Linked DNA regions of Homo sapiens: regions 1, 2 and 4 are each linked to region 3. Evidence: promoter capture Hi-C in 16 types of primary human blood cells and fetal thymus (Javierre and others, 2016). All regions are on one chromosome and are shown on one strand. Each heading gives the region's core, a stretch centred on a gene start or on the middle of the fragment in contact. The rest is flanking DNA. Distances are from core to core; before and after follow the strand shown.

Region 1 (7,538 bases), core at 4,431-6,930, 580 kb after region 3:
CAGTCATACAATGCTTAACAATGGGGATCTGTTCTGAGAACTGCATTTTTAGGTAATTTTGTCATTGTGCAAACATCATGGAGTCTACTTACACAAATCTAGATGGTATAACTGACTGCACACCTAGGCTATAGGGTATAGCTTATTGCTCTTAGGTCACAAGCCTGTACAGCATATTACTCTACTGAATAGTGTAGGCGATTGTAATACCATGGTAAGTATTTGCGTATCTAATCATATCAAATAGCAAAAATTTGGTATTATAATTTAATGAGACCACTGTCGTATATGAGGTCCATCATATGTGGTGCATGACTGTATTTAATCTCATTGAAATTGCTTCCTCAACTGTAAAATAGAAATAATAAAACCTAATACGTGGAATTGTCATGTTGACTAGAAATAATGTATGTAGTGTGCTTATATAAGTTCCTAGCCCTGGTAACACTTAAAAAACAATATCGTTTGCCCACTTTTTCATGGGATTGTTTGTTTTTTTCTTATAAATTTGTTTAAGCTCCTTGTAGATTCTGGATATTAGACCTTTGTCAGATGGATAGATTACAAAAATCTTCTCCCATTCTGTGGGTTGCCTGTTCACTCTGATGATAGTTTATTTTTCTGTGCAGAAGCTCTTTAATTAGATCCCATTTGTCAATTTTTGCTTTTGTTGAAATTGTTTTTGACGTTTTCATCATGAAATCTTTGCCCATGCCTATGTCCTGAATGATATTGCCTGTATTTTCTTCTAGAGCTTTTATAGTTTGGGGTTTTATACTTAAGTTTTTAATTTATCTTGAGTTAATTTTTGTATATGGTGTAACAAAGAGGTCCAGTTTCAGTTTTCCGCATATGGCTAGCCAGTTCTCCAAGCACCATTTATTAAATAGGGAATCCTTTCCCCATAGCTTGTTTTTGTCAGGCTTGATGAATATCAGATGGTTGTAAATGTACAGTCTTTTCTGAGTTCTCTATTCTGTTCCATTGGTCTGTGTGTGTGCTTTTGTACTAATACCACGCTGTTTTGGTTACTGTAGCCTTGTAGAATAGTTTGAAGTCAGATAGTGTGATACCTTCAGCTTTGCTCTTTTTGTTGAGGATTGTCTTGGCCATACGGGCTCTTTTTCGTTCTATATAAATTTTAAAGTAGATTTTTCTAATTCTGTGAACAATGTGAATGGTAATTTGATGGGAATAGCATTAGATCTATAAATTACTTTGGATGTATAGCCATTTTTGTGATATTGATTCTTCCTATCCATGAGCATAGAATGTTTTTCCATTTGTTTGTGTCCTCTCTGATTTCCTTGAGCAATGGTTTTTAGTTCTCCTTGAAGAGGTGCTTTACTTCTCTTCTTAGCTGTATTCCCAGGTTTTTTATTCTCTTTGTAGCAATTGTGAATGGGAGTTCATTCATGATTTGGCTCTTTGCTTTTCTGTTGTAGGTGTATAGGAATACTTGTGATTTTTGCATACTGATTTTGCACCCTGAGACTTTGCTGAAGTTGCTTATCAGCTTAAGAAGTTTTTGGGGTGAGACGATAGGGTTTTCTAGATACAGGATCAGGTCATCTGCAAACAGAGACAGTTTGACTTATGTAGCAAACCTGCACATCCTGCACACGTATCCCAGAACTTATAAAATAAAATAAAAATAAATAAAATTAAATTATAGGTTTATTATTAGTTGTAGCAAATGCTGTCAGTGCTGTCCATTTCCCTTGAACCCTACAATTAGGTGTAGTCTGGTCAGCTTCCAACTTTCAGTGCCTGCATTTCTGTGCCAGCAGTTTCTTCCTAGAACTTCAGGAGAGTGCCCTGCCTTCAGCATTCTAGAAGTGCTGGAACATTAATAGACAATGACTGACAGGATCCAGTGTACACACACCCAGCTCTATCACCTCCAAGAGGGATAACTCTGAAGTGTGTGTTCTACGTTAGTCTTAGTCTTCAGGTTCTCTGCAGGATTGAGCTACCACAGAGATAGCTGGTTTAGTAGTACACCCTTTAGTGGTTGCCTTTTCATCTCTGTTACTTCCTTGCTCCCCAAATGGTGGTCTTTGCACCTCCCAAATAAAACATTTCCTTCTTAAATCTTTGTTGGAACATCTACTTTTGGGAGATGGGGAATTTTCTTAAAATATAATTATTATGAAAGCAGATGAAATTTTCACATTTTGAAGAATTTTGAAAAAGCTTTTAGAAAAGTCATTATTTCTGTGGCAGAAGCCTAATGAGATTTTTCTTCACTTTTCTTGATTACAATTGTAACAGGGATTATAACCCATATTTTGCTGTCCCGTGGGTAAGTCACAGATCCCATATCTGGAGACCTGATTACTGGAGAATTTCATGGTCTTGTTGTAATAGTCTTGACCTTTAAGAATGGCCCTCATTGAGGGAAGGCGGATGGCATGTTTCTATTGTTCTACGGAGAATTCCATAGCCATCTTATATCTTCTTTGGGAAGGCATTATATAGTAAAATCAAGCAGAATTTCATTCATGTAACCCCTTCTTCTTTGTTTTTCCTCTCTTTCCTTATGCCTTCTTGCCTCCTAACAATCCTCCAGGTGTGGTTTCAGAACCGAAGAGCCAAGTTCCGCAGGAATGAGAGAGCCATGCTAGCCAATAAAAACGCTTCCCTCCTCAAATCCTACTCAGGAGACGTGACTGCTGTGGAGCAGCCCATCGTACCTCGTCCTGCTCCGAGACCCACCGATTATCTCTCCTGGGGGACAGCGTCTCCGTACAGGTGAATGACTGGCCCACTCTCCCTTGCTCCACTTCCACATGTTTCTCAGCGGTCGGTCATGTTTCAAGCTGCTTGTGCAGCTCACCGACATTTCTTACTGGGTTAATCTCTTCAGAGACATTCAACTTGCTGACATCCCCACATTTTCCCAGGAGATTATAAGCTGCCCCAGCAGCAGGGTTTGGGGCAGAAGTGAGAGGGGCAGGCTATCTCACCAATCTCCTCTTGGACTCAGGAACTCTTGCAAAGGTTTCAAAGATGAGGAAGAATCTAAAAGAAAAGATCATTAAGCTGTGCCCAGTGTTCCTCTTGCAACAATTCTGGAACAAAACTTTACCCTGTTTCCAAATTTAAGCTAAATTCGTTGTATTATGCAAATGTAGGGACGTAACTTGTAAAACTCCAAGTATAGGGCCAAAGGCAAACTTTGCAGTAAAACTGGCTTTGAATTAAAAAAAGGAAGAAGGAAGGAAGGAAGAAAGAAAGGAAAGAAGGAAGGAAGGAGAGAGACGAGAGGGACTATGACAGAGAGAGGAGGAAAGAAAAGCCAAGTTCATTCTGATCACTTTCATGGCCAAGGTTCTTTGTTAGTAGGTGTGAATTTCTTATAATGCCAAATGCCTTCCTAATCTATTGCTAATTCTTGTCTACTTGTCTGAAGTTTTCTCTGGGGATCAGTTTGTGTGTATTTGTGTGTGTGCGTGTGTGTGTGTGTCTGTGTGTGTTTCTTTTAAATAAAAAAGGAATGTATAATTTACACTAAACTTTTATATTAAAAAGTTGAACATTTTTAAAGAAACAAATATCAGAGTACTATTTCAATCTCATAAAGAGGCTTTTAACCTCCCATTATTATGCTGTTCAGAAAATATAGGCTGCCAGAAGGGAAGCTGAGACACAAATTCCTAACCCATTGGATTAGTCTAGAGTGACTTTCTTTGAAAATATACCTGAGTACTCTGAGAAACCAGGCCAAGCCTACGTGTTCTCCCTGGCTGATTTCAGTGGAGGAAGAACTATTCAAAAATTCATTTATTATGCTTTTGTTTACCTTTTTATTGTCAAGGTTAATTATTGGTTTAAGGAGAGGTTTTAAATGAAATATAGGAGATTATGTCTCAGATGAAGTTGAATTTCTGACATGAAATGCTACATTTTTGAAATGCAAGTGTTTTTCAAAGGTTCTTAGCTTTAATCAAAGCAAAAAGCCTCATCTAAAAGTTTCTTTCTGTTCCAAATCAGTTCCTTTAGAGAAACATGGTAAATGCACTTGGAAATTTGTTTTAATCCCCTGTTATAAAATTAGCCTGAATTCTTTTTGTCTTAGCACATAGAGACCCTACATCTAGGAAAGTCTTATTCTGGGCCCTATTGCACTCAGATGTGGTGTGCCTTACTGATCTTGAAACATTAGTTATATCTGTGTGCCCTATTTTAAATTTAAACTCCTCTCCTATAAGATTTACTACAAATACATTTTTTGAAGACCACTGTAAAATCACATATTCTCTAATATTTTAAATAAATGAAAGGCTGCTTTATTTCTCTTATAAACATTGGTATAAGAGAAATTTGGTGTGTTCATGAACACGCTAAATGGCTTGGAAAATGGGTGTGGTTCAAAGCCTGATGCTTCAAGATCTCTGGTTTGAATTTGGTCACAACCAGGAAGTATTGCCCCTTTTTCTGTCTGGGTCCTCCATAGGAACTTTTCATACCAGCCATAAACAATCCAGATGGCTGCCACGTGGTCCTTACCAGTGAGAGGCGTCACACAGCACACACTGCATGAATGGGGATGAAATCATTCCTGAATTAATATAGGGTTATATTACTTGGACCTCAGCCATTTGAGCCTCAGTGTCTGCATCATATGTGTTTAGTATATGGACATCTAACTGAAATTATTAACGTGGCAATTTATGCGTGCCTTTTTTGGAAATATTCTATTTTAATGGAAAGAATTATGTAGAAATACTGGATACATTTTTAAAAACATCCATAATTCACCATCTTGACATAACTAGTATATTCATTTTTGTGATTAGAGTTCAATGTTTTATATAGATGTAGCTTTAGTGTATATATTATTTTGTATTCTGCTCTTTTCACTTAAAGTCATATGACCTAGTACATTTTACTCATTTCTTGGTATGCTTTTATATCATTTCTCTCTTAGAAATTGGATTTGTAAAAATTAATTTAGAAAATCATAAAATCTGTTCATATTCTGTATGAAGAATAAATTAATCTTCAGATATAAGCAGAAAAGTGATGTTAAAACAATAATTTAATCAATAATAATGTTTTTTGATCCAATGTTGACTGAAGTGTTTATATTTTGGTTGATTTCTAAAAGTAGCAAAAAGCTATTCTGTTATTTGGAGAATTTTCTGCTATGTTTAGAACCAAACTATGTTATGATTTCACACTTTGAAGCTTGATAGGAAATATTGTTAAGGAAATAAAAAAGAAAAACAAGTGATCCAAAGCAAAGGAAATGATAGACTTTTGTGTTATGAAAAATTAACTCACTGTTCTTGTTGGTACTATTATGTCAAGTTAGTTATCTCACATGTGACACTCATTAAAAGGCATTTCTCTTGGTTAATTCTTGGAACACTGTTGTGTGATAGCTCTGTCTTGCTGTGCTTCCAAAGAAGAGACTAAACACTTGCCCAAATTTAAGTCTTCAGCAAGGAGAATTAGAACTAATGCTTGTGTTCCCTGTTTTCATCCAACATGTTAAGCCACACGACTATATTTTCATTCAAATTAAACCTTGCATTGTATTGAAAGTAGTAAAAAAAGTATAAGATTGGAAAACTATCTAAAATCCCCTTTTTATGCAAGAGATATCTCAGATCAGTGAGGCATGCCTGCAGCTGAAGTCCACACTCTGTGGGGACCTCATCCCATTGGACTGATAGACGTGGCTTGGTCATACAAGCCAGAGACAGTGAGCGACAGTTTTGCCAGAAAGGATATTTTGCTGACTTCCACAGTTATCCCCTGAAAAAAGAAAGGAGAAAACCAAGGCATAAAAGCAGTTATTTGCATATGGTCAGAATTTTGGGTTGGAAAATAGCCAACATACTTTTTTCTGGGTGTCTTTTACATCCAGAGTCATGGATGTGTAATTTATTGTTCAAACTGGGACATTTTTTAGAGTGAAAGGGGAGCATTATTAATAATTATACTAGGACAACAGGTATAAGCCAGGATTGTCCCTAGCAAACTGGGACATATAGTCTGCTCTAATTATAGCTTGTCATGACCTCACTCATTCCCTTGAGCATGTTAGAGGTGATGACATTAGGCAGGCAACTGAGTCACCAGAGGGACAAAGCATTCCCTATCACGGACACTGTTGTCCTGGCAGGTGCCTTCTTTACATCCGTGGCCAGTTAAAGGAAGCTTGTTTTTGGCACACACACCCATTGCTTAACTCAGAACTATTTTTCTTAGGCAACTTGTAAGAGTGAAAGCACACACAAGCACCAGAATTATTCAGACTCACTAATCTTGCAGTGCTTTGCTTCGTGCTTCGTGGGTAGCAGTGATCAACCAAGTCCTGAACTTTTGACTGTTATTTGAGATGAAGTAGCCAAGAAACATTTTCTCAGAGACATCCTTTCCTAGGTGAAGTGGATAGTGAATGGCCTGGTTTTGCATTATTTACCTGAAGTGCCATTTCCAGAGGGAGGGCTGGGCTTAAAAGAAAGCTAGTGATGAGTGAAAGAGAGGTCAGCTATCCTTGTCCACAGCTTCCCTCCCCATCCTTCTCCTCCCCTCATTTGATCGTGGTCATGGTGCTGCCTGACATCTGCTGAACGCATTTGGCTTATTTCTCCCTTTCACACTTTCAAAAATAGATCCTCGTCCCTCCCAAGATGTTGTTTACACGAGGGGCTTCATAACGGATTCTAACGGAAGACACTGAAAAGGTAACTTGTCAGAGGGGGAAGAGGGTGGCTGCTTGGGGTAGGGTTTAAGTGGGAATTCAGAGTGTTTAAGAAAGTGGGGGTTGCAGTTCTAGAAATTTCAGCAGTGAAGTCCTCAAGTGAGGAATATTATTGGTAACCAGAGCTGCAAGAAAGCATGTCCACTAAATGAAGCATAGTGTGATACTAATCTAGAGCAGGGCTCTTCAGAGATTGCTGTGCACAGGAAACATCTGGGATCGCGTGACTGTGCAAACTCTGATTCACTAATTCCAGGTTGGAGCTTGGATTGTGTATCTCTAACTTGCTTCTAGGTGATGCTGATGCTGTTGACACTTGGTACACATTTTGAATAGCGAGACTTTGTAGGTTACAGGACGGGGTTCGGAAGAACTACGTTCTTGTCCTGGCTTCTGCTGCTCCTCAGGCCAGTCAGATCATTGCTCTCTTATGCAGCTTTGTATCTAACATGAAGCTAGCAATAATCTCCCTATTGCTTATTTCACAGGGGTGTTTGGAACCTATCGATAAGCAGTGTGCGCTTCAAAAAAAGTCTTGCAACAATAGAAAGATACAAGAGGCTTTATATATAAAAGTATTTCTAAAATGAAAAGTTAAACATAGCAGAAAGATCACTGAACATACAGTACAAACGGAAAGCTTACCAATGAAATGTGCAAGTGTGTTCACTTTAAGAGATAAATATACGTATTAGAAAATCAACTTCTGAATTTCAAAACAGAAGTTAGAAATAGAAGTTAGTTATTTAAATCACAAAAGATCCCTTTCCAAAGAATTTACCAGATCTCTTTTTAAAAGTAAATTTCCCTAGGAAAACTG
Region 2 (7,262 bases), core at 4,142-6,641, 560 kb after region 3:
CTCTAAGCTGTGGTTAACTTTTGGCATGAGACCACAAAAAACACACTCCAAATATTCATCATATTCATAGGTTAAGTAGGGTACACAAGATGTAATTGATTTATTGGCCATTGGTCACTGCAGTCATCGTATAGGCCTGAATGCAAACTTGCCTTCTCAGCTGTATTGTGTTCTTAAAGGAACCTTGAGAAGCAAGATAGACTTTGGAAAGTTGGTGTCATACATCTTTCCTGTTTCCTGTCCTTAGCCTCCACAAATGATGATCTTGGAGAAACTCAACTTCATGAGAGTCTTTGTTGGAACAAATAAAATGGTAAATAGATTTTCCCCAACAGATCTGCACCTGGTGTGTAATAGACTATACCCAAAACATTTCCAAATCTTCAATATTAGTCTTTCACACTCAGTCTGGAGAATAAATTTTTCTTCTGGATTCTCTCCTTTTGGAAGGGGCATCATCTTGGGATCAAACTAACAGGCCTAGATTCTGTTGTTACTGGATGCTTTGTGCCATTATTTTTCCAGCCCTGACAAGAAACTGCTCTTCTAGAGGGACCCATAAAACTTACCTAGTGGCTTTGGTCTGAACTTTGAAATGTACACTGCAAAGAGTTCCAAAGGCACACATGTTATTTGGGTCCTAGTGGAATGGTCTCAATATATAAACTCTCACAATGTAATGGGAGAACATCCTTAGTGATTCACCTTAAATGTACCCCATTCTTTTTTTTTGTCACCACTTTGCCACTTTCCTGCTCCATGTCTGCATTACGTAGCAATTTAAGACCTCATTTATATAGCTCATGGTTGTGTCAACCAGCATAATCTGGCAATTCACTTCACTAGGAACCTTACATCCTCTGCCTTGGTTTATTTAAATTTTAGACATTATATATACATATTTTTGGCAGGTTCTCACTCTGTTGCCCAGGCTGGAGTGCAGTGGCACAATCATGGCCTCAGTGCAGCCTCAACCACCTGGGCTCAGGTGATCCTCCCACCTCAGCCTCCCAGGTAGCTGGGACTACAGGAGCATGCTACCACACCCAGCTAATTTTTGTTATTTTTGTAGAGACAGGGTTTCGCAATGTTGCTCAGGCTGGTCTCAAACTCCCAGGCTCAAGTGATTTACCCGCCCTGGCATCCCAAAGTGCTGGAATTACAGGTGTAAGCCACCTCTCCTGGCCCTGAAATATCTATTTAAAATATATATTTTTTGTTTACTGCTAAGTTCAGCAGGCAGTGATATCATGTGACCTATTGTCTGGGAGCTCCTACCAGAAACTACTATGTCAAAGTGAGCTAGCAGATACAGTTAGTACTGTACTAGGTAATGACAGTAAGTCTCAGCAGTTTTAGTGGGCTACGTAGAGAACTCAAACAAGTAAAACTTTTGCATTGCAAGAAGTTGTTCCTTCTCATGTGAGCAATTGAATCTGCTTCTAGTTCTCATGTTTCTAGCACTGCTGTTACCAGTTCAATTTTGGGTTCTCTGGGCTAAGTCACACATATACCCACATAGACACACACACACACACATACACACACACACACACACACACACACACACACAAACATTTTATGAGAAATTATGCCCCCCACCCTTAAATGTTAGATTTTTTAAAAACTCTGGAACTTTATAAATAGTTTTTCAACAGTTTTCTTTGGTCTCTTGTTAAGTATTTGAATACCTGCTAAATCTGAACATTATCTTTAAAAGTTATCTAAAAGAAAATAAGCATTCATGCAATGTTGAAATAACCCTGATATCTGCAAATATCATTACTAGTGTTATTTAAAAATAGTCAAAGACATTGCAGATTTGACCACAGGAATGTATATCCATGGAATTACACAGTGTCTAGTTAATCCATTGTTAAATTTATAGATTCCAAAAATGGAGGTAATTAGCAATTAAGTATATTATTCTTTACTATATACCTCTTTGAAGGCACAGATGTATCTATTGGTCAAGTACTTGAAGAGGAGTTTGTAATTTAAAATTAGAAAGAGTTATTAAAAACAATTTAATACTATGCCCTTTTTCAACAGCAACAGTAATAGAAACCTAGATTGGCAAAGTTACATTCTCAAGATCACATGACTTTTTTGGGCCAGAGACAGAGAACTCATGTCGTCTGGCTTCTGATCCACTGACGTTCCCCCGTACCCCATTATATAAAGTTGACTTCTCATACATTTCTATGAAAAAACTTTACTAACATTGAATTGCTGAAAATGTGGGAAAGAGTATAAAGTTATAATTGTATAAATTTGGTCTGGGGCTATGATTAATTAGAGACAAGTTTTGATATAAAAAATGGGTTCTCTCAGGTCAAGAAGTTACCTATATTCGTATCACTTGGTGACCACCTACACTTCATGGCCAGAAAAGCTTAGTGCCATTTGGTCTTGGGAAGACCTGAGACTGGTGCTCAAACCAGAAGTCTCAGCAGGGCACAGTGGCTCACACCTGTAATCTCAACACTTTGGGAGGCTGAGGCAGGAGGATTGCATGAGACCAGGAGTTCAAGACTAGTCTTGGCAACATAGTGAGACCCCAAACCTAGCAAAAAAAAGACTGCTGGGCATGGTGGTGTGCAACTGCAGTCCCAGCTACTGGGGAGGCTGAGGCAGGAGGATCACTTGAGCCCAGTAAATGAGGTTGGAGTGAGCTGTGATTATGCCACCGTACCCCAGCCTGGGTGACAGAGTGAGACCCTGTCCTTAAAAAAAGGAAAAAGAAAAAGAAAAAAAAAATACCTGGATGTCTCTAGGAAAGAAAATTGTAATAATCCTTCTAGTCAAGAAGCTTTCTCCTCAAACTAACAGATCTGTAGTAAAGGAATAAGTTTAATGATATCATCAGGGAAAGTATGACCACTACAACTAAAAAGCCCTAGTATGGAAATAACCAAATAGAACAAAGTGAAGGAGCCCAGCAGGGGTCTGCAGAACACAGCTGAATAGCAAGAAAGGAAAATATTTCCTTTTAACTCTCTTGTTGGCCAGATAAAAAAAAAAATTAAAATGTAGCTTAGAATGTCCCCACCTTTGCCCAAATCAGTTACCATGCACACATCTTCTTTAATTGATTTAATGCAAACACTGTGTTTATAAAATCTGATTTTCTCAAATCCTTTCTTCCATCTACTCATCCAACCAGTATATGTTTTCTATAAGAATCTCCTGAGTCTATGAAATTTTCATGTTTATTCCTAGGATGCTTTATTTTAAAGGTGCTGACTTCTGAGTAAATTAACCACATAATTATACCCTGTGCCATTTTAATCAAATAGATTAAAGAAAAGAAATAAGAAGGCTTGTCAATGAAACTTTTACCAATTGTTGGAAATGCTCTTGCAGTGGAATTAAACACTAGTATATCCAGTTTGTCCTTGTTCTTGGTTCAACATATTACTATCAAAGTCCTTTTTCAAAGTAATTTAAAAATTGGAAAATTTTTAGAAATAGGGAAAACCTGAAAAAAGACCCAAGGTTATATGAGGAAATATATCTGTAATTGTCATGTAAGTCATATTGGAAACAGATGCCAAGGAAGAGAATGACCCAGATGGTGATTAAAGAGTCATTGTCCTTCCTTAACCTTGATTATCTTCCTTTTCTGGTTATCATTTTATGTTTAATCAATACAACTTTTTCTTAGGTCTTTCCTTCATCCTACTTTCTTCCTGTTATGAGTTGAGCAGTGTAAATTCTTCTTGCCAGATTTCAGATGATGAGGATTTGGAAGTGCTGGTCACGACATGAGTCACAGTGACACACAGATTACTCATAGATTTCCACTCCAGGCAGACAGAATGACTATTAACAAGGACTTCTTTAGGGCTGTTCAACAACAGGGGACATGATTCAATGGAATAAGATTATTCCACATGAATTTTTGGGTGTTTTACCCAAATGTAACTTTTTTTTTTCTCATATGACCTTAGTGCATCGGCTTCCTTACTAGTTAAAACAGTCGCATATCCTTGGAGAGGAAATCACCATATAATTAAGGCTTAGGTGTGGTTGACAGGCCGTAATGTTCCTGTATATTGGAGAATGAATTAGCCAGGCTTTTGCCCAAGCTCCTTTGCCAGAGAAAGGGAACAGAAAACACGGTGACTGGAAATGACTAACTAGAAGAAAATACAACCTCAAGCTAAATATGTTTTTTGGAACATAGAAATAACTGTATCAGGTCAAGCCTTTTGAGACTTCCTTTGTCTTTTCTAGGAGCAAGATGGTCAATAATTCCATATGTATCATCATTATCAAAGTCAAACATTTACTGAGCACTACTAAAAGGTTTAGGGCTCTATTCTACACACTTTGTTCACCTGCCTTCAAGGCTTACTTTCTAATCAGAATAATTACTGCTGCAAAGTCATTCACTGAGAAAGTGCATGAGAAACCTGCATAACACTTGATCCTGGAATTTACATGCCTTACAAAAATGCAGTAAGCAGGAAATTTTGTGTGTCAAGACCTTATTACAGAAACTGATCCCTGAAAGAGTGGTCAGGTTTGGTGGCTGAGTGTGAATGGACCAGGTTGTTCAGAGTAGGCACTTTCACCAAGCAGAGTCTAACATATTAATTTAATAATTCTAAGAGAAGTACCCAAAATATGGAAGACTAATGTCAGGTGCCGGGATAGCACAGTTAACAAGTCAGGTAAGGTGCCTACCCTCATGAAGCTATATTCTAGTGTGAGACAATCAACATAAATAATTACAGACTGTCATAAGTGTTATAAAGCAAATGGTTAAGATGCTGGATGAAGAATAGTGAGAAGACTACTTCTGGTTGTTGATCACAGAAGGTTCCTACAAAGAACTGACAGGTCAGCTGAGACTTAGGAAAGGAGAAGGGGCCATTAATGTAAAAGTTAGTAGGTATGGGTAAGGTCTGTGATGTGTTATTAGGCAAAGAAAGACAAGGTCAGAGAAAAGTATAAATGAAAAGGACAAGAAAATTATGTTTTTATCACCATTAGCAGTACAACTAGAGTGGAGTGATTGGGTGAGAAATAATAGATCAGCTGAGAAAAGGATGCTAAGCTTCAGGTATGACAAAGAGAGGCCCATGCAGTGTTTTCTAACCTTGCACTCTCTTTGGTATATCTGTCCTCCTTCCTGGCCCGTTCCTGGCTCTGATGGTCACCAAGTGTACTGGAATATTTTTTTTTTCTACTATTACTTTACTTGTCAAGTGCTTTTGACTTCTTTCTCCAGATCAGTTAGAAAGTAAGTATCTTGAAGTGCAGACAACATACAACATTTCTCTCTACTCAGAGCATCTCATCGCTTGGCATGTAGGTGCTCAATAGATATTTGTTCAAATGAATGAATAAAGTGATAGGGAGGATGCTAAAGTCAAGATTGAATGTAACCATTGTTAGTGGCATCCATTTTGGGATTACCCTAAAATGGTTGATATAGGCAGTGTTTGCAGCAAGGCTGACGCCACTTGACTCATGGTTAAGAGGTCAAGGATGGCAGAGAAATGAAGTATGTAGCTATTCTTATTTCCTTTTAGTAAATTTAGAAGATAGAATAACTCTTTATAGTTATTCTAAAAAACATCTTAGGTTTCTTCTTTCTCTAGACTGTGGTTAGAGGTAAACTAATGTCTTCTAAAGATTCACATTGATTTCAGTCTGGAGTTTATCCCTGCAGAGTGCTGTGGGCATGGAGGAATATGTCAATCATTGAAGCTTTCCTCAGGCCTGGTAATTACATTACAGCCCTTATGCAAGATAAAATCCAGCCTAACTTTTTCTCAAAAAAGTAAAAAAACACACCACCAACACCATCACCACCAAAAGAATATAATTCAGTCATCATGCTAAATGAGCAATTATTGAAAGTTTTTTATTAGGCTAGGCATTGGAAGTGTAAAAACTATCCTATAACTCCACAATGCTGAATTTGAAACAGATCTTAGTCCCATAGCCCAACTTACAATTATGCCAGTTAGGACACTTGAGGGCTAACATCACAGGCTTTCCCAGTAACTCCCCTGAATTAGAATCAAAGTCTCCTTATTTCCAATCCAAAGCCATTTCCACTATTGCTCCATAATACATATTTTACAATAAAATATAAGGAAATGTGTACAGCTAGTTGTCACAATTTGTATCATTTAAAAATATATGTATCACTTGTATCTTAAAGCAGTTGTCATGGACTGAATGTTTACATCCTCCCCAAATTCATATATTGAATCCGTAACCCCCAGTGTGACACTATTTGGAAGTAAGACCTTTGAAAGGTAATAAGGTTTAGATGAGGTCACATGAGTGAGTCCTCATGATGGAATTAGTGTCTTTATAAGAAGAGACCAGGAAGCTTGCTCTCTTTTGCTCTCTCTGCCATATGAGGATATAGTAAGAAGGCAGTTGTTTGCAGGCCAGGAAGCAGGCCCTCAACAGGAACCCATATAGGCCAGCCCCTCTTCCTGAGGCTTCCAGCCTCTGAAACATATTTCTGTTGTCTAAACTACCCAGTCTATAGTATTTTGTTTTGGCAGCCTGAGCTGACTAAGCCAACAACCCATTTTACAGATACAGAAATTGAAAGCTTCAGATGTTAAAGAATGGTAATTTCCTCAAAAAAGTCAAGCTTTAAGCCACTATTTACACTTCGACTTTTCTTATTTTTTAAACAAAATTTGAATTTTTGTTCTTTAAAGAGAATTTTATTTCATCTAAAAAGTATTTAAAAATATCAAGCTTCTTATTTTGACCATTTTAGCATGTTTTCATCTTCAGATTTATTTGACATCCAAGACCAGAGTAACACCAAGAAGAACTTTGATATCCTTTTCAGCCCTCTTCATTTATTCTATATAGTGTTACAGAATTACCTTTGGTTCTATCTCTTACTGTGATGGAAAGCTAATTCTCTGTTATTGTGGCTTTCTCTGCTATAAGCACCTTGTCCTTTTAACACAAGATAAAAAATTATAAGAAAATTCAAGTCATACTTTTGTTCTCATAAGTTCAAATGCCTTGTAGCTGTCTTTCTATCTAAGCAGAGAAGCTCTGCTCCATCACTCCTGTCCTTCTAAGAGCTGAGCTTACTCATTAACTATGTACATCTCCTTCATTCCTGTCTGCTTCCAGTCTTGGTTTTTTAGAACCTGTGCTTACCAGATTTTTCTTTAGAACATTAAAAATTATAACCAAAAAGATAAGGAATCATTGAAAAAGGTGACATATGATGCTTGCCTCTCATGAAAACACTAGTTTCTACT
Region 3 (7,102 bases), core at 3,163-5,662:
GTTGTGCTTCCAGTTAGCACCTATGAGTGGTAAATTCTCTCTTTGTCTGAAAATATCCTTATTTCATCCTCTATGCTGAATTTCCCTTTAAAGTATTATGATATTTTAATTTGATAGGTATTTTATTTTGAGTGGATGTTCCCAAACATTTAGCTTGTTGTACTACTGAATGAGTATGTTTTTTATATGGCATTTTTTCTTTCTTTGTTTTCCTTACTTCTGACTCTCTCTTCATGATAATTTACTTTTTAACAGTAGTTACCCCCCGCCCACCAAGGGATCCCCTGTGAGATGGAAAACCAAAATGGATAAATTCAGAGTTTCTACCTTCTCTTGCTGGAGTCATATTTCTTTCTTCTGCATTCATTGTTTTTCTTTCCTGCCTGGAAATTGATGACTGGTAGACTTGAGATCTATATCATAACCTCATTTACTGAGTATGAACATAGCCAAGAATGGTGTGAGGTGGTAGCAAATAGAGCATTGCAGCTCTGAGAGAAAAAATATTGGCATAAGGAAACAAACGCAATGAGCCAGAAATTGGTTCGAGCTATACCAGTATGAGAAACAGTCACAAAATCCAATGTGACCTACAGAGATAAACAAAACTTGACAAAGGCATTTTGTAGAAACCAATCAGTCTTTCACCCCACTCAAGAATTATGGGTATGAAATATAGAATCTTAGAACACTTAATAATCCTCATTCAAACACAAATAATTAATGTTCATTTTATAGTGGAAGAAAATTAGTTCTGTAAAAACTGAGAAACTTGCTAATATCAATTGCCAAATAAGCAATACTGAGCGTCTTGAGCCAGTGATTGCCAGTCTCTCTCCCAGCACCAAACATCCTGACCTTTTAAGCATAGGAGGGGTCATCAAAACATCACTGAGATGGGGTTAAGAACACACCTCTTGTTAAACGTATTGATGAATATAAGTAACAAAAGAGAATCCCTTCATGTTTTTCTTCTTTTACTTAATTTATTTTACTACAGCAACAAAAAATTCCAAAGGATGGATGAATGAGCTCTAACAACACATTTCATTTGGATTTCTTTTCAATTCTTAAATGCATTAAGTACAAATAATCTGGATATGTGTTAGAATTACTTAAATACAACAGAAGAAGAACCAGATAGACATCATGTATTTTGAGGACCTATAACTTATTATTAGCTTACTCCAAAGGATTGTAATGATAATAGTTAACTGATGATAATAACTGAACATGTACTGTGTATTAGGCACTGTGGTATTTTACATGGATTATTTCATCTTGCCCTCACAATAATAAAGTAAGACATATACTATTATCATCATTTTTATATTAAAGAAGATTAAAGTGAGGCTCAGAGAGACTAAGAAATCAGTTAGTTGAGGTAACCCCATATATAAGTGGTGGCAATGAATTCCTAACTCAGTCATATCTGCTTAATTCCAGGTAAGACCCTTCCTTCTTAATACCATGAAATAATCACACCAGAAGTTTCTTTGGTCTGTTTGATGTCATCTACTCTATCTTCATCTTCATGAGAATTCATTGAGTAAAAATGATTCAGGATGGTATTTGTATTAGACAAAACTCCATGTTGCTAGTACAGAAAACTCAACTCAAGCTGGCATTAACAATAACAGACTTAGATAATGTGCCCACTCAAAAAGGAAAACTGGAACCAGGGTAACATTATGTACTGACCAGCTCAGGCGTGGATGATATACCCATCTGTGTACCACAAACTGTGGGAGGGGCAAAATGGATAACTTGAACTGCAGTTTGGGCAATTACTGAAGCCAAGGATGGGGACAATTCCACCAAAATTGAATGGCTGTCCCTTTACCTGGAGAGGGAGAAAATGGCAAAACAGAAGCACAAGAAGATGAGGGAAAATAAATCAGAGTCAAATAATTGGAATCCTTACTTCCTCTCTCAGTAAAAGATTGACACACAAATAAAACTTAAAAAAAGATTATGGCTACATTGTTTATCTTCAAAAAATTCTGGCTGGGCTTACTGGCTCATGCCTATAATCTCAGCACTTTGGAAGACTTAGACGGGAAGATTGCTTGAGGCTAGGGGTTTGAGACAAGCCTGGGCAACATAACGAGACCCCGTCTCTACAGATAAAAAAAAAAATTAAAAAAAAATCCAGATGTGCTGATGCATGCCCATAGTCCTAGCTACTCTGGAGAATCAGGTGGGAGGATTGCTTGAGACTTGGGAGATTGAGGCTGCAGTGAGCCATGATCACACCCCTGCACTCCAGCCTGGGTGACAGAGCGTGACCCTGTCTCAAAAAAAAAAAAAAAAAATTCATGGACAATGTATGAATTCATTGTATCTTGTGGCATTGTAACAAATAATCCCCAAACTTAGTTGCTTAAAATAATAAACACATTTCTGTGGATTAGTAACCTGGGTATGACATAACTGACTTAGGGTCTCCCATCAAGTTGCAGCCAAACCGTTAATTGGGGAAGGATTCGCTTCCAAGCTCACTTACACTGTTGTTAGTGGATTTCAGTGTCTTCTGGGCTGTTTGACCTAGGACTTCAGCTCCTTGACATGCAGGCCTCTCCACATGGCCACTCACAATAGGCAGCAGTCTTCCCACATGGCAAACAAGCAAGTGAGAGAAAGAAGACACCTAAGACAATCTTTTAATAACCTCTTCTTAAAAGTGACATCTCATCACTTTCACCATATTTTATTCTTCAGCGGTGAGTCCTTAAGTCCAGCCTATACTCAAAAAAAGAGGATTACAGGAAGAGGTGAATACCAGGAAGAAAGAAGATGGGGATTCTTATGGACTGCTGTGGACTGAATGTTTGTGTTCCATCAAAATTTTTATGTTGAAATTCTGAGCCCTAATGTGTTGGGATTTGGAGATGGGGGCCTTTGGGAGATAATTAGGTCATGAGGGTGGAGCCCTTATGAAGGGGATAAGTGCCCTTATAAGAAAAGACACAAGAGCTTGATTTAACTCTCTGCCATGTGAGCACACAATGAGAAGAGGGCAATCTGCAAACCAGACAGAGGGCCCTCACTAGACATGGGATCTGCCAGCACCTTGATCTTTGACTTCACAGCTTCCAGAACTGTGAGAAATAAATGTTTGTTGTTTAAGCCACATAGTCTTTGGTAATACGTTAGAGCAGCCTGAACTAAGACAGGGGTCACATTAGAAGTTGCCTACCATAATGTGTGCATTTGTGTATATTAGCATGTGTATATGTACAGGCAGGGGGTCTGTGGGTGCACATGGCATAGGGCCAATAGTGTATTGAGATCTTACACATTTTCCTGTTAGGAACATAAGGGGAGGAAAACAGTAGTCATGGTCCCTGTAGGGAACAGATGGAATTCACAAATTGGGAATTCGAACTGGTTTAATAAAGGGACTATTTACAAATATGTGGGCAAGTATAGGAAAATTACAAGGAATTGGGCTTGTCACCTGATACATCACTCCCCCTGGGCCTCAAGCAGTCAGGTGAAGGAGAAATGAACAGAACCAGGAGAGGATATTTGTATGAGAAGACCCTGGTCAGACGTATGACCTTTTGTTAAAGGATATGGTCAGCTCATGGCATTTCCACAGAGAAGGTGCCAAGGGAATAAATACCTTGACCTCACTTTCCTCCTGTCTCCTCCTGGCACTATCCATTGGCTAAAGCCAACTAGAAGCTAGAGGGCAATGGAGTCCACTGATGTAGGTCAGCCTCCTGGGGAACACATAGTAATGTATGAAGAGTGGAGAGTGTATCCGGAGGGACAATCAGAAGATACCCGGTACAGAAAACAAATGTACTTAAGAGGAAAATTATATTCAGAGTAGGCAGAGAGGAAGAAACAGGCTTACATGAATAGTTGTTGTTTACAGCAAGCTAGATGGAAGAGTTTGCTGACAGAGAAGGATATTTAACGTCAAAACAAGCTTTCAAATAATTGCTTCTCTTGAAGATCCTTCAAAATAGGAAACACATACACATTTCTATGAAATTATTTGGGAGAAATTGTACTGATGAAAGGAGCATGAGTGGCTAAGATGACTTTGAAGGGTCCTTGTAATTTGAGGATTCAGTGTTCTACGAGGAGTGATGGAAATCAGGGAACAAGATCTCTTGCAAAATATTCACAACTCTTTGAAATGGAAATTAGGCTATTCCAATTTAGAAATCAAATTAAGGCAAATATTCAGGGTGTTAGCAGGCTGTGCTCTTGCCTGTTTGAAGTGGTGGCTAAAGGAGAGAGGCGTGCTTTTTCCTGGATGAAGCAGGATCTCTCTCAGCCAGTTTTCATCCTTACTTAGCACCTGCTGGCTTGGAGTGGTGTCACCCAAGCAATCAGACGGAGGGACGTGCCAAGAGCCTGCCCTCCCCTCCCACTGTGTGCTGCCCCTCCTCCCCACACCCATGACAGCCTGTCCTGATATAGATGGAGAGGGGACTGGTTTAAAATGACAGTCTCAAGTTCATTTAGAAAGAGAAGGCTAATTCAAAGAAACAGCAAGGCAAGCTTCCTTTCTCTGTAGGAATCATTATTATCCCCCTTTGTCATGGCCCACCGGGGAGCCCATTTTGCCTTTAGATCCCGCTGGCAGAAGACCGACGATGAACTCTGTAGACATAGCATGTCTTTTATCCTTCACAAAGCCATTCGCAATGACTTCTTTCAGAGCTATCTCTACCTGCTGGAAAAAATTCCCCTGGGTAAGTGAGTCAGAGCTACTAGATAAGAAACAAGAAATGACTGATGGGATTGCATGAGGTCATGGGGCTTCTAGAAGAGAATTTAAAACAAGGACACTTTTCAGACAAAAAAAACTCCACAACCAATGTCACTGGGCTGAAATGTTTCAGTGGAATTCTTTATGGAGAATACAAAGATTAAGTGCCTAAAATAGAGTCAGGACTTTATTTTGGGATTTCCATGCACCCTCAGGCACTGTGATTTGCTTCTCTGGGTGTCTGTTGCATGAGTATCAGGCTTGTAGAAACTCAGACATGTTTAATATTTACAAAAAATTGTAATTGGGCAAATTTGATAATTCAAAGATGAGAGTATTAATGCATTAATACATTGAGTAAGAGTTAAAAAGAAAGACTAAATAATGATAGATCAAAATGTGCTTGGGTTATGTATGTATGTTTCTGTGTCTGTGCTTGTGTACACACTTACAATCCTCTGCGGTCTTCTTGAATCACAAGAATAGTCAGAGAGCCTAAAAAAAGGAGATTTTAGCTTGGTTTTTGAATATTAAGAAGTCAGTGGTCTGTCTCCATTTTTGTTATCTCCTCTAGTTTTCAGAGAATTGGACAATAGAGCAATAAAAAGCTTATCTGTTTTGCCTACTCTACTTTTTTCAGCCTCTGTGAAAGCAGTTACTTCAGGGCACCCTAAACAGCACTGAAGAGGAAATAACTTACCATTAAAGAGTAAAATACCCTTCTCCCTTTGATTTGTATTTTCCCCCAGTGAAAGCAAGAAGGCTGTGTATCAGCCTAGTCTGTTTTCTTAAGGTCGTTTGAAAGCCCCATTGTGCACTTGATGTGGTCAGGGTTTCCAGCTGTCGAAGCAGCTACATAATTCTTTGTATTGCATTCAAGCAACCGAATGTTAGCAGCCTACCAAAACCTTTTTGTAAATCCATTTATGAGGGATCTTTAATTCTAAACATACAAATACCTTCATCTCATATTTATATAACTTCTTTCTAAAACTTTTTATCGTCTATGACTTTATTTGATTCTCATAGTCACACTATGAAATAGATAGGGTAAGTTATCATTTTTTTTTCTACCTATCTTCCCTCCTTCTTCCTTTCATTTTACTTTTTCAAAGGAGGGAAGTAAAATTCAGAGATGATGATATTTAATCTAGATAGAGTAATATGAAAGCAAAGACCAAAGTCCAGGGCTTTTTTTTGGTAGATCACACTGCCCATGAGTAATTCTTTTAGGACGTATAATACATCTCATCTATATCCAAAAGGAAAAAAAAATACAGCAGTTTAAATGGAAGGTGATGATGTTCTAGTCACTTCATATACTGGCAAAGCATTGCTTTTCTGGAGACACTCTTCAGGCCATACCTCAATAAGAGTAGGTTGGTAGCTTTGGTTTTATTAGACTGGAGAAAGATATCAATTACAACAGCTGAGAAGAGAGTCACTAACAGGCAGATGACTGTCAAACTTTAAAAATATTTACTAGAGAGAAAAAGAAGTCACCTTTGAAGGCAGCTGAAGATGAGTTAAAAAGTTGAATACAATAGTCTCTTCTGAAAAGCAGATGAAAATTAATTTGGCACAAATGGACTATAATTTATATTTAGTCTCAATCCCTTTTTTTGTTCAATAAAATCATTTTGATTTTGTGTTTTTCTCCTTTGTAAATATGCTAATGTTTTACCAATGAGTTTTGACCTTTTAAAAAAACATTATTATCAAAAGGCAAAGTTTTTGACAAAATATTCCACTGACGCCCAATGTAAAATACAGGAAAAAGGGAAACTTTTCTGCATAGGATTGGGGGCAGGACCCTTTCCTTGGTCTATTCTCTTAGACTTACCACTGTCTCCTGAGGCACTCCTTTTTTTTTTTTTTTTTTTTTTTTGAGATGGAGTCTCACTGTGTCGCCCAGGCTGGAGTGCAGTGGTGCAATCTCGGCTCACTGAAAGCTCCACCTCCCAGGTTCACTCCATTCTCCTGCCTCAGCCTCCTGAGTAGCTGGGACTACAGTCCCCCGCTACCATGCCCGGCTATTTTTTTTTTTTATTTTTAGTAGAGACGGGGTTTCACCGTATTAGCCAGGATGGTCTTGATCTCCTGACCTCGTGATCCGCCCGTCCAGAGGCACTTCTCTAATACCTGTGGGGTTCCATAAACACAGTTTGAAAACCATTAGTCTATCCCAAGCCAACATTGCCTTCATTTTACTTATTTGCAGCTTTCCATAAATGGGCATTGCTTATTTTCTCTGACCCTGATGATTTGACCTGGACATTAGTTTGCCTGAGAGTCACAGAGCTAGCCTCATCCACAGTACCTCTTTGATGATAGAAATTTAGGGCTATGTTAGTCAATATGGACTGGGAT
Region 4 (7,162 bases), core at 2,726-5,225, 760 kb after region 3:
ATATTATATACTATATAATATATAAATATGTGTAATTATACATTAAAATGTTTATTTTATGTATATAAATTTATACATATTATATATAATATATATAAAACTAATATATATATCAAAACAATCTTAAGAAAAACGAACACACACTATTAGATTGCAAACTTAACATAAAGTTATGATAATCAAGAGAGTGTAATATTAGATTTATAGATATTAAATATGTGATATTTAATAATGGACAAGAATTAAAATCTTATAAAGTTATTGCACAGATTAAATGACACAATGCATGCAAGGTGCCAAGATTGCTGGGTTCATAGTGTATGCTCCATAAGCACGAAGCATCCTTGTACCACTTCTTTTCTCCCTGTTTTTGTTTACTAAATTAGAAAAAATTCAACTCACAATTACAGATTGTTGGGAACAGATGAGTCTGTTGACTCTGTCAGATTCATATTCAACTTGGACCCAGGAACTCTTAAGATTTCTCACTGAAGAATTCAATACTGTGACAGTTCCCAAGTTGACTAGTTTCTCTCACTTGAAGTATGGAAGAAAAAATACCTCAACTTCAGATATTAGGGCAAATGGTTTTCTTTCTTTTTTTTTTTTGGGGGGGCGGGGACGGAGTCTCGCTCTGTCGCCCAGGCTGGAGTGCAGTGGCGCGATCTCGGCTCACTGCAAGCTCTGCCTCCCGGGTTCACGCCATTCTCCCGCCTCAGCCTCCCGAATAGCTGGGACTACAGGTGCCCGCCACCACACCCGGCTAATTTTTTGTATTTTTAGTAGAGACTGGGTTTCACCGTGTTAGCCAGGATGGTCTGGATCTCCTGACCTCGTGATCCACCCGCCTCGGCTTCCCAAAGTGCTGGGATTACAGGCGTGAGGCGCCGCGCCCAGCCAAAGGCAAATGGTTTTCTAATCCAGCCTTTAAAAAAGTTTTGACTGTGGAAAGCATTTCCTAGTTCTCTCTTGCATGTGTTGTTTTGTTTCGCTTTGCTTTGCTTTCCTTTGTTTTGTTTTGATGAGTATTACTCAATACTCATCAATAATACATACTTCCTCATCAATAACACACTATCCATTTCTTTGTCCAATAAGAAAAGGAAATTCTCAAATTGAAGGGAAAAGTAAAGATCTCTGTGATATCAGTTCAGTCTTCTTTTTTAAAATCCTGATATCCTATTCTCAGTAATAAAAATGGTAATATTTTGGCCCCAAACTAACAGGCCACTCTATATAAATGCTGCATATGTTGTTGAAATATATTGCCTAAGCAAGTCACTGGAAATTATATAATTGGTCAAATGAAATTTCCAGCATCAATAGGAAAGTTTTAATATAATTCCTCATTTCAAAATCTCACATTGCCAGTGTTGACTTAACAGCCAGGGAACTTCAGTGCGTAAGAGCAGGGTTGTACAGTTGCTTCCATTTCCTTACACAGAATGTTAAAAAGACATATCAGTCACTGTCATTTAATCATATTTGCACTGTTTATTTCAATATTTCAATCAAGATCAAGTGACATTTTGCTAACCATTAAATACTCTGGGAAAATATAATAACCATAAAGATAAGGAGAAATAGCGTTCTCTAGCAAGTTTCAGTAAAGTTACTGCAGTTTAGCTAATCATTTTGTGAGTTTCATGAATAATCAAGGCTTTAGTGTCTGCCTAAATAGTTTAGAATTTAGAAATAGAGATTTTAAAGAAGGAAAGATCTATGATAGACTCCTTCATTAACCACTAACCTCTGAGATTTCTCTGTTATATGCTCTCATAGCACCATAATGTATGAAAGCTGTATAAATGTAATAAATGTGGGATGTAAATGATGTGTGAATAACATGTAACAGTATTTATGTGGTATTTGTGTATTTATTATTTCTCTTTCCCACTGAACTGGGAGCTCAGAGAGGGCAAGCACTATTTGGTTTCGTGTTCTATAGCCACTGATTAGCAGAGTGCCTTGCACATACTGAGGTTTCAATACACATTTCTTGAACATGTAAATAAGTAAAACAGTTCAAATTAGAATAGAAATATAAGATAAAAATTAATATGAAAATTAAGCTAACCATCTTTCATATAATTGCTAATGAGCTATTAAAAGATTGGCATATAAATTACAGCATTTCAATGTTCTCTTTAACTTATTATTTACCTTTTCCAAAGTTGAACAGATACATTTTATTTTGGCTTATTTAGACTGTACATTGCTTCAATCACATAGGTAACAATAAGTAGAAAGATGTATTATCTCTATTTTGAGCTAAATTGTCCATAAAGATTTTTCTTGAATCAGAATCTTAGCTAACAAATGAAGAAGGAAATCACATAATTAGAAATCACCATTTTTCAAACTATAATAAAATACTGGAGGTAAACAGTGATCATCAATACATACTAAAATAATTAGATGAAAAATTGATGGAGAACATTATAGTAGATGGCTCAGGCTGATAGTACCTGAACCCACTGATCTTAATATCACAAAAAATAGTAACAATTTGACATTTTGTGAGTACTAGTGTGATGTATTAGAACATTCACAACATTATCTGTGAAGTATTTTTGCCAAAATACATCTTATAAAGCCTCTAGATCAAATTTCTGGTTTATAGACGCTACAGGGCATAGAGGAACATGTTAGTGACACTGCAGAATGCAATAACAAAGTCCAGACTATGGGAAATTCTAAAGATTTTTTTCCTCAGAATAAACAGCTCAGTTTCCTCCACAAGTATATGTCAAGGGGAAAAAAGAGGAAGAAGAAACCTGTAGTTTAAAAGATCCTTAAAAGACACATCAACCAAAGGCAATGTGTAAACACTTCTGGATTCTGATTTGAACAAACTGTAAAACAAAACAAATACAAAAATAAGATAATCAGGAAAGTTTGAATACTGGCTGAATATTTGATCAAATTAAGGAATTACTTGTCTATTGTTTTAGGTGTGATAATAGTGGTGGAAATCTTTTAGAGACACACACTGAAGATTTGTGGATGAATGATATGTAGGATTTGTTTCAAAATAATCTAACTGAAGGTAATTAAGGGATGTATAGATAAATTATGTTTGGTCATGTTTGATAATTATTGAGATGGGTTGGTAGGTATACGTAGATGTATTATAATGTTCTTGTTACTTTCATATATGTTTTAATGTTTCCATAATAAACAATGTAAAAAGAAGGAAAAAACAGGCAGAAATGAAGATTGAACAAAGTACAGTGTTGTGATTCAGAATATAGCTCTGGAATCAACTGCCTGAGATTAAATTCCAACTCTACTACTTACCAGCTGAGGGACTATGGTGACTAATAAATCTTCTTGTGCCTCAGTTTCCTCATCTGTACGATGGGGATAATAATGGTACTTGGCTAACAAACTTGCCAAGATTCGGGGAATTAATACATATAAAGCATTTAGAACAGTGAGAGATAAACAGTATGTGCTAATACATGTTAGCTATTTAAAAGCAAAGTTATCCTAATTAGCAATTAGTTTTAAAGCTTAACTGGAAGACTTTTCTTTGTGCCAACTTCAATCACTTGGTAGTAGCTTCCTAGAGTCTTGAGAAGAATATGATTTTGAGACCAAATGTGGACACAGCAAAAAATAACTTACACTTAGGTCTGCAAGGGTGGGAAGAGTGGGTTTATGTGGAGGTATTTATCAACCTCTTTCTATCACAGGCAGTTTTCATAAATTATGGAACTTTGTAACTAAACTAATCTACTTTATCTCTTTCTTTTACTGAAGAGAGACTTGAGTCCAGAGAAGTCAAGTAATTTGCTAAAAATTATACATTTGGCAATTAAATGGTCCCCAGAACCCAGATCTCAAGGTTCCAGTAAGACAAGTGATGTGTCTCATATCTCAGCATTGCATCTGTGGGGAAATTACATTCATTCATGAAACCAATTATGACTATAATTGCAAGGCATCTTATTTTGAGATTTGTAAAGTGGTTCTAAAAATTGAGAAACATAGAAAGAAATCTGTGCAGTGGGGTTGACAAGGGTTGAAGCAGACAACCAGAGCATCACTCCCTGGCTAGCAGGAAATTGAGTCATTCTTCATCATTCATCCTGTTTTGCAAGGTCAAGTTTCCAAAGGATTTTGGAGGTCAAACTGTAGGCAGTAAGGCCTATAAGCCTCTAGGACTCTGGTTGTCTCCCTTATTTGACCCTTCATGGCTGTTGAGACCTATCTGTATGGTCACTCCAAGAACTCAGTAATGACAGTGACACAGATCATTTCTGAGGTCTGTTTGGAGGTATCTGAAAATATCATTGATTTGCCTTGAAACTAAGGCAATATTTGTTTTATTTGAGTGTCCTAACTGTTCACAAGGAACATCCAAAGTAAGCATATTCTTTCCCAGCAACAGTTTTCAAGAAGGACTGTAAATTTCTTGCATTGCCAAGAACAAAGCTTTAATCTGTGAGGCATTTGGGAGGTAAAGAATATTTCAAAGTCATATTCAAACCTCTGTCTTAAAAGTTGTTCTTGGGAGATTTCAGCGGCTGAATTACAGAAATGTTTACAAGGAATTCAAAATCGAAGCTATTATTCAAAACATTGTTTTTCAAAGGTGCTATTGATTAAAATGGGCCTTTACAAAGGTCTATGAAACCCTTTTCATGTCTCCTCACCCTGTAAATTGTTGATGGGAAAGAAAACTATGAAGCAGTTACTACTCATAGAGACCACTGGCACACAGCGAAGCATTTTCTAAACTAAGCAGCAATTTCAAAAGATTTTACTGTCTTATAAACGTTTCCCAATGGCAAATATGCTTGCAAGAGAACCATTGTTCTAGCAATGATTGAACTATTTACAGTCTCTCTTGACATCATGTCTCTCTACATATCCTTTCAGACATTTGTCACTATTCTTTGCTACTACGATAAAATTTGATAAGCAATAATTTATAAAAGGTTTGTTGCAATGTGCAATCTCAAACTATACCTATAAACTTTGCATGCTCTGTTACATTAAAATCCACTTGTCTGTCTTGCACTTTGAGGAGACCTTTCACTCATGTCTGATTTTGTAACATTATACGTTGGTAATTTGGAACATACTGGTTTACCAAGTTATGCAGATCTTCCAAATGCTGACGCAAAATCACAGTTATTAATATCACTGCCAATTTCATCAGAAAAGTTTTTCAGTATTGGGAAGCTGTCAAACTCATGGTGGTGGATAACATTTTCCAAGATTCTAATTTTCTCTTGAAAACTTCAGTTTTATCATTGGCAACAGATACTTATTTTCCCTGAAGTGACAGACTCATATCATTCATTTTTGAGAAAATGTCTGCCAAATACCCAAGTCTGAATAACTGTAGTCTGTCATTGCTTCATTCAAATAATAAAAAAGAGTTTATAGAGTGGTCTGTTCAGCTCACAATTCAAATACTCACACAAGTGCTTTTCCTTGAAAATATGAAACTAGCATATTTCTCCATGTAGCAGAAGTACTTTATATGTATTTCTCAGTTCATTATATAGAATATTTAAAAATTCATTTGCTGACTTTGCTTGTTTTGTTTGGTTAGGTTTTGGGGAGGTTTTGGTGGGTTTTGTTTTTGTTTTTGTTTTGTTTTTACTGTATGTATGCGGCAGTGGATAATGTGGTGACTACTAGTACAGTTTGGTGCCCTATGTCGATTCATGCTGAAGGACTAGCAGTTTTATCCAACAATGGTTTTGCATCATCGGTGCATTATTATTAAAACAGTTTTGACCTCATGGACCTCCTGATAGAGTTGCAAGGACCTCCAGGGATGTGCTGATGACACTCTGAAAACTGCTGCCTTATACAATGACCCTTGTATATTCATTCTGACAAAATAGGATTTGAAATAAAGGTATAATAAGGAAAGAGTACAGGAGATAGGCAAGGAAAAAAGTTTTAGCTTAGGTTCTAAAAATGAAAGAGTCTTAATTTCTACTTAAGTTGTGTCAAAAGTAACTTAATGAAAGATACTTAAGGGAGTTGATCTTAGGGATATGCTATAAAGCTAATCATTGCAGTTCAGTGGTAAAATGAAGGAATAAAGTTAACAAAAACCTAACATAGAATAAAAGATTAAATTTAAAATTATAAAAGGATTTTGCATCTGAAACATGGAAAATGCATTTTGATTTCTCACGATTTTATTTCCTCTCTACTATGCAGTAATCTTGATTTGACAATATTTCACTGGACAAATTTTGGAAAGGACTCCGTGTTCTTGTCCAGTATATAAGAATAACAATTCCTTATTTTAGAATTGTACTTTAACATTTCAAAGAAATGTAAACTCTGTAGCTTTAATTTAACAGCATTGAGTAGCAACTCTACTACCAGCCTCAGAATTGTGGGAAAATTTACTCCCAAAGTAATGTAGCAAATAATAAAATTTTGAATGCAAATGTATGTAGTATGATACAACAGGTGTGTGAATCAAATGAAAAGTACATTTTTGCACATCGACACATTTAATATTCATTTAAAATGCTTGGTTTTGAAGGGAATTCTAAGTTGAAACTTTGTCAACCTTGTAATTACTTTCTATTTTTTAAACATTTTACTGGTGCTTTTATAAACGTAAAGAATTTTTCTTGTAGAAAATATAGCAGTCATTTTATATTTTTTCTATAAGAACAAGGGGAAAATAGGTCAATAAAACATCTTAATCCCATGTTACCATTTTGTATGTTATGGATTTTTTTTATTAGAGAAAAATACACATTTACAGTAGAAAATTTGGGAAATATTCAAATAAAAACTGATATAAGAAAAAGAAATCATAAAATATGATAAAATTTCTCTCTCATTAAACCAGTTAAACAGTCAATGGAAATAAAAACATAAAATAGTCATTTTTTTTATAATCATTGCCTTCAAGTAGGCCAGGTAGAAGCTTTATTTTCTATCTGATACTGATATATAGGGGAGGACACAAAGCTTCGCCATGTTAAACTCACAGCTATGTAGACATTGAAGCCTGCTGCCACCAGGGCTTACCAGATGAACACAGGACCTAGAGTCTCCTGAAGAGGTCATTCCCTACAGCTTCTCCTCCTTCACTCTTTTCTACCACTTGCCAACTATAGTCACTGCTAATATTCTTTCACTCTATTTTTGCTCTTGTTTGATCTCTCTA

Evidence for each region. The method cuts DNA at HindIII sites, captures the fragments that hold promoters and counts their contacts. A CHiCAGO score of 5 or more calls a contact.
Region 1: a contact is called between a fragment that was not itself captured here and the fragment with the promoter of NTMT2 in region 3, in 1 of 17 cell types (M0 macrophages). The highest score is 6.7, in M0 macrophages.
Region 2: a contact is called between a fragment that was not itself captured here and the fragment with the promoter of NTMT2 in region 3, in 1 of 17 cell types (M2 macrophages). The highest score is 5.2, in M2 macrophages.
Region 4: a contact is called between a fragment that was not itself captured here and the fragment with the promoter of NTMT2 in region 3, in 4 of 17 cell types (M2 macrophages, M0 macrophages, M1 macrophages and 1 more). The highest score is 10.2, in M2 macrophages.

The regions. Positions count from the first base shown.
Region 1 is chr1:170,723,648-170,731,185 of GRCh38, forward strand. PRRX1 (paired related homeobox 1) reads left to right here. Exons shown (of 4, transcript NM_022716.4): 3 at 2,573-2,754. Among named protein-coding and RNA genes, the nearest start is that of PRRX1, 63 kb to the left of the region's middle. The HindIII fragment of the contact is 978 bases long and covers 5,192-6,169 here.
Region 2 is chr1:170,704,396-170,711,657 of GRCh38, forward strand. The region is part of intron 1 of PRRX1 (paired related homeobox 1); the gene reads left to right. Among named protein-coding and RNA genes, the nearest start is that of PRRX1, 44 kb to the left of the region's middle. The HindIII fragment of the contact is 656 bases long and covers 5,064-5,719 here.
Region 3 is chr1:170,141,547-170,148,648 of GRCh38, forward strand. It overlaps NTMT2 (N-terminal Xaa-Pro-Lys N-methyltransferase 2), which reads left to right and starts at 4,413. Exons shown (of 4, transcript NM_001136107.2): 1 at 4,413-4,715. The coding sequence starts at 4,562. RefSeq lists enhancers at 3,994-4,525, 4,526-5,056. The HindIII fragment of the contact is 581 bases long and covers 3,939-4,519 here.
Region 4 is chr1:170,906,472-170,913,633 of GRCh38, forward strand. No RefSeq gene overlaps it. Among named protein-coding and RNA genes, the nearest start is that of MROH9, 25 kb to the right of the region's middle. The HindIII fragment of the contact is 925 bases long and covers 3,514-4,438 here.